Regions from separate parts of the Homo sapiens genome. Here regions 2 and 3 are each linked to region 1. The links are contacts of gene promoters, found by promoter capture Hi-C in blood cells and fetal thymus (Javierre and others, 2016). All regions are on one chromosome and are shown on one strand. The core of a region is centred on a gene start or on the middle of the fragment in contact, and the rest is flanking DNA. Distances in the headings are between cores, read along the strand shown. Region 1 holds the start of POU2F2 (POU class 2 homeobox 2). Region 2 overlaps LIPE-AS1 (LIPE antisense RNA 1). Region 3 overlaps DMRTC2 (DMRT like family C2).

Evidence for each region. The method cuts DNA at HindIII sites, captures the fragments that hold promoters and counts their contacts. A CHiCAGO score of 5 or more calls a contact.
Region 2: a contact is called between a fragment that was not itself captured here and the fragment with the promoter of POU2F2 in region 1, in 1 of 17 cell types (neutrophils). The highest score is 5.4, in neutrophils.
Region 3: a fragment that was not itself captured here is called in contact with the fragment with the promoter of POU2F2 in region 1 in 1 of 17 cell types (fetal thymus); the score reaches 5.7 in fetal thymus.

Annotation. Positions count from the first base shown.
Region 1 is chr19:42,131,170-42,133,709 of GRCh38, forward strand. It overlaps POU2F2 (POU class 2 homeobox 2), which reads right to left and starts at 1,277. Exons shown (of 15, transcript NM_001394376.1): 1 at 1,215-1,277. The coding sequence starts at 1,242. It overlaps LNROP (long non-coding regulator of POU2F2), which reads left to right and starts at 1,460. Exons shown (of 3, transcript NR_038332.1): 1 at 1,460-1,592; 2 at 1,736-1,859. It overlaps MIR4323 (microRNA 4323), which reads right to left and starts at 2,344; the gene lies at 2,276-2,344. RefSeq lists a silencer at 1,959-2,218 and an enhancer at 2,499-2,540. The HindIII fragment of the contact is 8,202 bases long and covers 1-1,803 here.
Region 2 is chr19:42,562,077-42,564,616 of GRCh38, forward strand. All of the region lies in intron 2 of LIPE-AS1 (LIPE antisense RNA 1), which reads left to right. Among named protein-coding and RNA genes, the nearest start is that of CEACAM8, 32 kb to the right of the region's middle. The HindIII fragment of the contact is 9,698 bases long and covers 1-2,540 here.
Region 3 is chr19:41,851,138-41,853,677 of GRCh38, forward strand. DMRTC2 (DMRT like family C2) reads left to right here. Exons shown (of 9, transcript NM_001040283.3): 9 at 447-1,196. The coding sequence ends at 559. Among named protein-coding and RNA genes, the nearest start is that of DMRTC2, 7.4 kb to the left of the region's middle. The HindIII fragment of the contact is 1,104 bases long and covers 710-1,813 here.

The sequences.
Region 1 (2,540 bases), core at 27-2,526:
CAGCCCTGATCCCTCTGCCTGGACCTCCCCCATCCCAGCCCTGACCTGTCTGTACTGTCATTGGTGACAGGTCTGTCTTCTCCAATAAACTGGGAGCTCCAGGAGGACAGACCTGAGCTACCCTTTCCACTGTACTTCCAACACCCAACACAGAACTACTCAATAGATACATGTTGGTGGAGGACACACGGGTGCCCGCACACAATGGCGCATATAGGACAGCACACACCACCAAACCAAGACTCATGCCCATGGTCATGCCTACACAGCCACAAATGAAACAGGCATGAAGGGCTGAGTGCTTGCCATGTTCCAGGCACTGTGCTAAGCATGCTACATGTATTACCTCATTTAAGACTCCCATCAACACTGCTGAGTGATAGCCATCACCATACAGACATATACACATTCTACTAAATGAGCCAACAGCTATAAATCACCTTGTACAGTGCCTGGTGCACAATGTTCACTCAGCCAACTGACATTTGGTGGAGAAGGCATTTAATAAGCACACAAACAAACACATAATGAAATTCCCAGCAGTGATACGTGCCGTGAAGAAAAGATAAAGCAGGGTGAGGGGACTGAGAGTGACAGGATCAGTGCCAGTTTAGATGGGGAGGTCAGGGAAGGCTGCCCTGAGGAGGTGACATCTGAGGTGAATGAAGTGAAGAAGGGAGCCAGGCAATCATCACCCCACAATGCCACACACAACAGCCCCCTACACTCACAAGCACACAGCAGTCCCACTCAGAGCACTCAGAACTACTGCACACACACATGCACACGCACACCTGTACCAGATGTGCACACACACACTCAAAAGGGAATGACATCCCCCAAGTCCAGCAACTTGGCATTCCAATCCCTTTGCAGCCCTTATCCAAGGATTGCCCATGTCACCCACCCCACTGGTTCTCCACATGAGGGCCCGCTACCAACACCCAGCTCCCTCCCTCCCGTCCCCAGACCCTTCGGAACAGGGCAACAGAGAAGAGAAGATGTTGGAAGTTCCGGTGCCTGATGTGGAAAGAGAGGGCAAAGAGGAGCTGTGGGGGTTAGCGGGGACCCGGCATGGGAGAGAGGGAGTTGCTAGAGTACAGAGGAGAAGGACAATGGAGACAGCTGAGGAGGAGGGGCAGGCAGGGCCCGCAGAGCAAACCTAAATGTGCTGCCTGTCCTCTGAGCAGTGGCACAGGCACCAGCCCCCTTACCTGGAGCCCCCATGCTGGAGTGAACCATGCTGCCCGCCCCGCCAGGGCTGGGGGAACAACTGTGTCATCTCCCCACCCTCTCTGGGGGCCGAGCCCTCCCTGCCGGAAGTCACTCAGGGAGGAAACCACAGGGCCGGTCCGCCCCCTTCAGAAGGGAAAATACCCTGGCCCACAGACCCGCCCCGGCAGCCCGGCCCACCCCAAATCATGTGTGTGTGCTGGGGGGTGGGGGCTAGTGGGGCAGAGGATAAGCAGGCTGGAAGAGCCGACTCCTACGGCTGCGATCCAAGAGGTGCCTGCAACAGTTGCCCCCCGACTTCTGTCGCCCCCATGGAGGCAAACAAGTCTGGAACAGGGAATGGGGGTCTGGGAGAGAAGGTGGGTCCACAGCAGTAACAACAATAAAACACTAGCCAGCAGCTTATTGGAGAGAGGGCTTTGCCGATGCCTGACCCTGTGCCTCACTCTTGACAGGTGCCATCTCCAATGTGGTGGTCACTCTTATTTGCCCCATTTTACAGATGAAAAGACTGAGGATCAGAGAGGTGAGCAGTAGCTTTCCCAAAGGCCCAGAGCCAAGAAGCGTTGAAGCTTAAAAGCACGCCGCGGCAGGGAAGATCAAGCAAGCCCTGCGCCTATCTGCAGGTGAGCTGTTGGGTGCCACCATTGGGAGGAAGTGGTGCCCGTGGGCAGTGGTAGTGGGGACGGTGGGTCGGGGACTTGGCCTGGGGCTACAATAAGTCGCCGGCCAAATGCGGGCGCCCGAGGCGGCTCCAGTGGAGGGGAGCACCAGGTCCCCGGGCTGCCGGCTGGCTCTTCGCGCTGCGGCGCTCCCATTTCAGCGCTTCCCTCCGTGCCCGCCAGAGGGCGGCAGCGCCCAGCCAATGGGCCGGAGGGCGGGGCCGGCTGCGGAGAAGGGAGCCCCTCCCTCCGCTCCCCTCCCCAACACCCTCCCAACACCTCCGCTCGCACACCTGCGAGGGTCACACAAAGGCGCAGGACTCCCGGCGCACCGCAGCTCAGACAAAGGCGCGCCCGAGTCCGCTGCCCTCTTCCTCTTGGTGCCCGAGGTCTGAGGCTGTGGGGCTGCCTGGCGTCTCCAGACACCCCACATGCCCGCCTGGGCCCCGCAGGACATCCTGCGCCCCGTGGCTGGGGGGCCCCCTAAACCACAGGTGCATGCACAGACGCCTGGACTCACCCTCACACACACAAGTATTTCTACAGATGAACCCCAGCACTTCACACACACACACGTGTGCACACACACGTGCATGAACACATCTATGTGCACAGGCCCCAACACCAGCCCTCCCTGCTGACGAT
Region 2 (2,540 bases), core at 15-2,514, 430 kb after region 1:
CCACACAGAGAGTCCCTGGGGTCCCCGAACCTGGTTTGTTGTCTCTATGACAAAGAAATCCCTCGGTGTATTCAGGGTCTTCTTAGTGTTCTTAAATGTCTGGGAAGGTTGGATTTCCTCCCAGCAAGGAGGTCACAAAGATGTCTGGGGTCCTAGGAATGGACACATCTGGGGCTAAAGCCCAGGTCTAAGAGTCTTACTTGTTCTTTCTGCAGCGCTATGTGGCCCTAATTTCCTGGGAGTAACTGAGAATGAAGCTGCACGTTGCTGTAGTATTATGTCATCCAGACCTCAGACATTTCTAGATCACCTTTATGATTTTCTCTACAGCTTGTTCCACATTTATTATTTACTTCATACTATTTTTCTTTTTTTGAGATGGGATTTTGCTCTTGTTGCCCAGGCTGGAGTGCAATGGTGCGATCTGAGCTCAATGCGCAACCTCTGCCTCCCAGGTTCAAGCGATTCTCCTGCCTCAGCCTCCCGAGTAGCTGGGATTACAGGCATGCGACACCATACCCAGCTAATTTTTTGTATTTTTAGTAGAGACGGGGTTTCACTATGTTGGCCAGGCTGGTCTTGAACTCCTGACTTCAAGTGATCTGCCCACCTTGGCCTCCCAGAGTGCTGGGATTACAGACATGAGCCACCGTGGCCAGCCCATACTATTTTTTTCTAAATAAATTTAGTTTACAAAACATCTTTGTTTATCAGGGCACAGTGGCTCACACCTGTGATCCCAGCTACTCGAGTGGCTGAGGTGGAAGGATTGCTTGAGGCCAGGAGTTGGAGACAAAACATCCTTGTCTTATGCAGTATTGTCCATGAAATTACAGATTTGATGTGTGCTTAAATGTTTTTCTAACATGCATTAAAATAAACACATGAGTATTAAAATTAAAAAACAGCTTATTTAACTTTCACCTAAAATCAGTTTTGGGAAACGCTGATACAGTGGCATAAGCATGCACTTTATATCCAGATAGACCTGGGGTCAATTACTGGCTCCATCACTTAACTATGTCAACTTGGACACGTCACTTGGCTTCTGTGATCCTTGATTCCCTGATTTGTAAAAGGAGGATGGTAAAATCCACCTTGCAGAGTTGTTGGGAATAAGTGAGCTGCTGTGGGAGCCCCGTGCCCAGGCAGTTGTTGAGTACATGATGGTTATCATTGTGGTTATTGCTGTGGGATTCTGGTTATTTTCCAGAGAGAGTGTCTATGCTGGAATATTGGGCTTGTGGCTTTCTGGTAATGTACATGTGTGATAAGTTACTTTTTCGCTTGTTAGGACTTGTGGTGCATCTGTCATTATTTTCATGTCACAGTTTTACTATCTATTTGCTCTGCGATTTTGGTCAAGTTGTGTAACTTTTCTGTGCCTCATTTACCTAATTTCTAAAATGTGGGTAACAGTAAACTAGTGTGAGTGTGTATTTCCCAGATCTGACCACTAGAGAGCACAGAAGCACCAGCACCTTCTAACCGTGGGCCTATCAGTGCCGATGGCCTGCAAACATCGTTCTCCCATGAAAGGAACCAGGGCTCCCTGGAGAAATAGCTGATTCCAGGGCTGGGTCAGGAAAGCATAGAGGAACCTGGAGCTCCTTGTGGGGCCAGAAAATAAGGAACTGCACGAAAAATGGTGGGGATGTGTCAAAAGGTCACAGATTTCCAAGGAACTCTCAATGGTCAATTTTGGGACAATATGAACAACATAATAAATAATGATAGTAATGGATTCCAGTTCATAAATACCCATGAATCCATGCTGATATAAATAAATAATTGAATAAATTAAATAAATGAGGAAGCAGAAATAGCTTTTTCTTGTAGCAGAATTCCAGTTAATAAATGTAGAAGGAGTGGTGGAAATGGAAAATCACTATTTGGCTCACAACACAGGAATTGTTATTTATAGGCAAGGATCATCATGGAATATGAAGAGGCCTGGAATGAGGCAGGAGTGAGAACAGGTGGCGTGATTTTGTTTCCCTGAGAGGAGGGAAGAGGCAAGCCATGAGTCAAAGCCCTTTGATTTTTGTTTGACAGTTCTTCTCTCTGTGTTTTCAAATTATCCCAGCCTGTTGCCTTGTCACAGAGTTGGTTGTGGGCTTTGCTACTGCAGGGGTTATAAAGCACGTGCAGGGGCCAGGGACTGTGCTAGGCAGTGGAGCCTGTGTGTGAATTGAAGGGTCAGGCAGGGCCTAAGCGTGGTCTGATGCAAACCACTGATGTGACTTCTTTCTTGAAAATTCTAAAAATAATCTCTGCCTTCAGGAGCCTCAAGTCTAATGAGGGAGATGACATCCACTTTATAAAGCCTAGAGATATGAGTGCAGTAATCTCTCAAAGTGGCAGAAGTGCATGGGGGACTCCGAGTTGGGTGGAACTTGAGCTGGCCTCACAGGGCAGGGTAGGATTTGGGTTGGTGGAGGGCAGAGAGAACGGCTGTGTGGAGCAGGGGTGTGTTGTAGGAGAGGCACTCTTTGGAGCTCTTTGTATGGAGATCATTGAGGGTAGGGGCTGTTTGTGTT
Region 3 (2,540 bases), core at 12-2,511, 280 kb before region 1:
TGGAGGAACCTTGAAGAGTGAGAAACACCTAGGGGGACAGACAGGGAAAGCTGCGAATTCTCTTGTCCAAATAGTGGATTGGGCAGACTGGCCTGGAGGAAATGCTAGAACAGAGGGAAAGGAGGCTGGAGAGGCTTCTGATGGTGGAGATCTGGCATGCCAGGCTTAGGTGTCTAGAACAGCAACTGTATGTGAAGGGGAGCCAGGGAACGTTTCTGAACTAAGCAAGGACAAATTCAGAGACCCTGAGCTTTAGAAAGACAAGTGGGTGGCTTTGATGGACGGTTTGGAGGAGGCAAGACTGGAGGTGGGAAAATTAGCAAGGAGGTCTGTGAAATAATCCAGGAGAACAATGATGAGGCCTGGATTGGATTCGGTAAAAAGAGGGGGTTGCTAGAAGGAAAAACAGGTGTGACCTGATCCTGCCCCTTCCTTCTTGCCTGTAGCTCCTGCTGGAGGAAGAGGATTCCAGCCTGTTGGCCCCTGTCTTCGACCCAGCCCAGCCCCCTCTGTTGCTCTGCATATTGGCCGTCTGGGGTCCATCTCCCTCCTGAGCTAGAAACCCAGAGATGGAGGCTGTCTTGCTATGGCAGGGAGGTGACAGCCTGCTGGCACTGTATATTTAGTGTCTTACTTAAGGATTTATGCATGGAATTTAATGTAGTACAAGCTTCGGGCTTTTTTGTTTGTTTGTTTGTTTGTTTGTTTAAGCTTTCAGGTGCTTCATTAGCTTTCAGTTCCTTTGGTAGTGTGGGCATTTCCTTGGCTGACAGTGGATATTCTTGTACCCTTCTTGGGTCCTGGGATCTCTTGAAATCCCCAATAAAGAGAGAGTTGTGCTATTTAAGCTGACCAGTATCTATAAACGTGTTTGCATGAGTTTACATCCCAGGATTCCATGATTCTGTAAATGCCTATGCATTCATGTCTGTCTCCATGCATGTGAAAACAGGAGAGTGTTTTCATTTTGTGTCTAGGTTTGTGTGAGTAAGCAAGAAATAAACCTTTGTTGTTGTAAGCCACTGAGATTTGGAGAGTGTTACCACAGCCTAACCTAGTCTATCCTGACTGACAGAAAGGACTTGTTCATTTCGCTTCTCAAAGTGAAAAATCTGTTATCCAATAGCTACCATAGATGAAAACAAACTTGGATTTTTTTCTTTGTCCAAATAAAAAAAAATGATGTAAAGAAATAATGGGGGATTCACTGATTAATTGCCCGCTCTGTGCCAGGCATAGACAGTTTCCAGCTGTCTAGAGGGGCTACAAATCGAAATGCCTACAGGGCTGAGCAGATCAAATAAATGAGTAAAGAAGGCCAGATGGACCCTGGCAAACTGAGAATGGATGCCTTGCCTAAGGAGCAGCCTCCTTTTGGCCCTAGCAGATTACTGCCAGGCGGGAATGTGGACTCAGTGTTGCTCCATCTTCTGATTTTTTAAGAGAAACTGGAAAACTAGATTTCCATGTAAAACATCTTAATTTTCAAATGTTGGCTCAGTTTTCTTCTTTAAATTCTATACGTGCCAAATAAAACATATTTTCAGGCTAGCTTTGGCCAGTGGAATACCAATTTGATACATTTTCCAGATGGGGAAATTGAGGCTAACCAGAATAGAAAGAATCGAGTTAGTCTTTATCACAAGTTTTTCCTCAACTAGGGAGGTTCACGTGTCTGAGTTTCGAAGGATCCATAAAAGGTTAAGAAACATTTATTACCATTTATTGAGTGCCCACTCCATTTGATTCACATATCTTCACAGCAACCCTGGAAGTTATGCAGGATGGTTCCCATTTTACAAGTGAAGAAACAAGCTTAAAGAGGTAAAGTAACTTGCCCAAGTGTTTTAGGGGAAATTTCTAGGCAGAGATCAGAGGAGGGTTCCTTCTCTTTGCCAGGCTCCAAATTAGTTAATAATGTTTATAAAGCATTGGGCCGGGTGTGATAGCTCACACCTGTAATCCCAGCACTTTGGGAGGCCAAGGCAGGAGGATCGCTTGAGCCCAGGAGTTTGAGACCAGCCTGAGTAACACGGGGAGACCCTGTCTCTATAAAAACAAATAAATAAAAGCATAGAATGAAAGATGCACCACTCCTTTCCCCAATCAGGACTCCAGAAGATACATACAAGTCAAGAGTTTTTCAAAAAAGTCTTTTATTTTTCTCCTCAAGATATCATTAAGAATAAGATCTTACCTGCATTTGTTTCTCAGTCCTCTGGTGTCAAGTCCTTCTCCTTGAACCATTCCGTACATAGGAAAACCTGTTGAGCTATTCCAAAGACATGAAGCCTGGAGACCCCCTTCCCATTCCCACCCTTAGAAGGGGCTCAAGGGATGTGCTTGATCACTGATTCTTTTTCCTGATGTTACCTACACCCCTTGTTTTACTCAAGATGATTGATGGTGATGACATCCAATTACAACTTGTTATTTCTTATTTGGGATTTTGAGAGGGTGGGTTTCTTCTCCTCCCTAGCAGAGTACAGAGTAACAAACCTGCAGCACTTCTCAGGAGATACTGAGATATCAGGAGACCA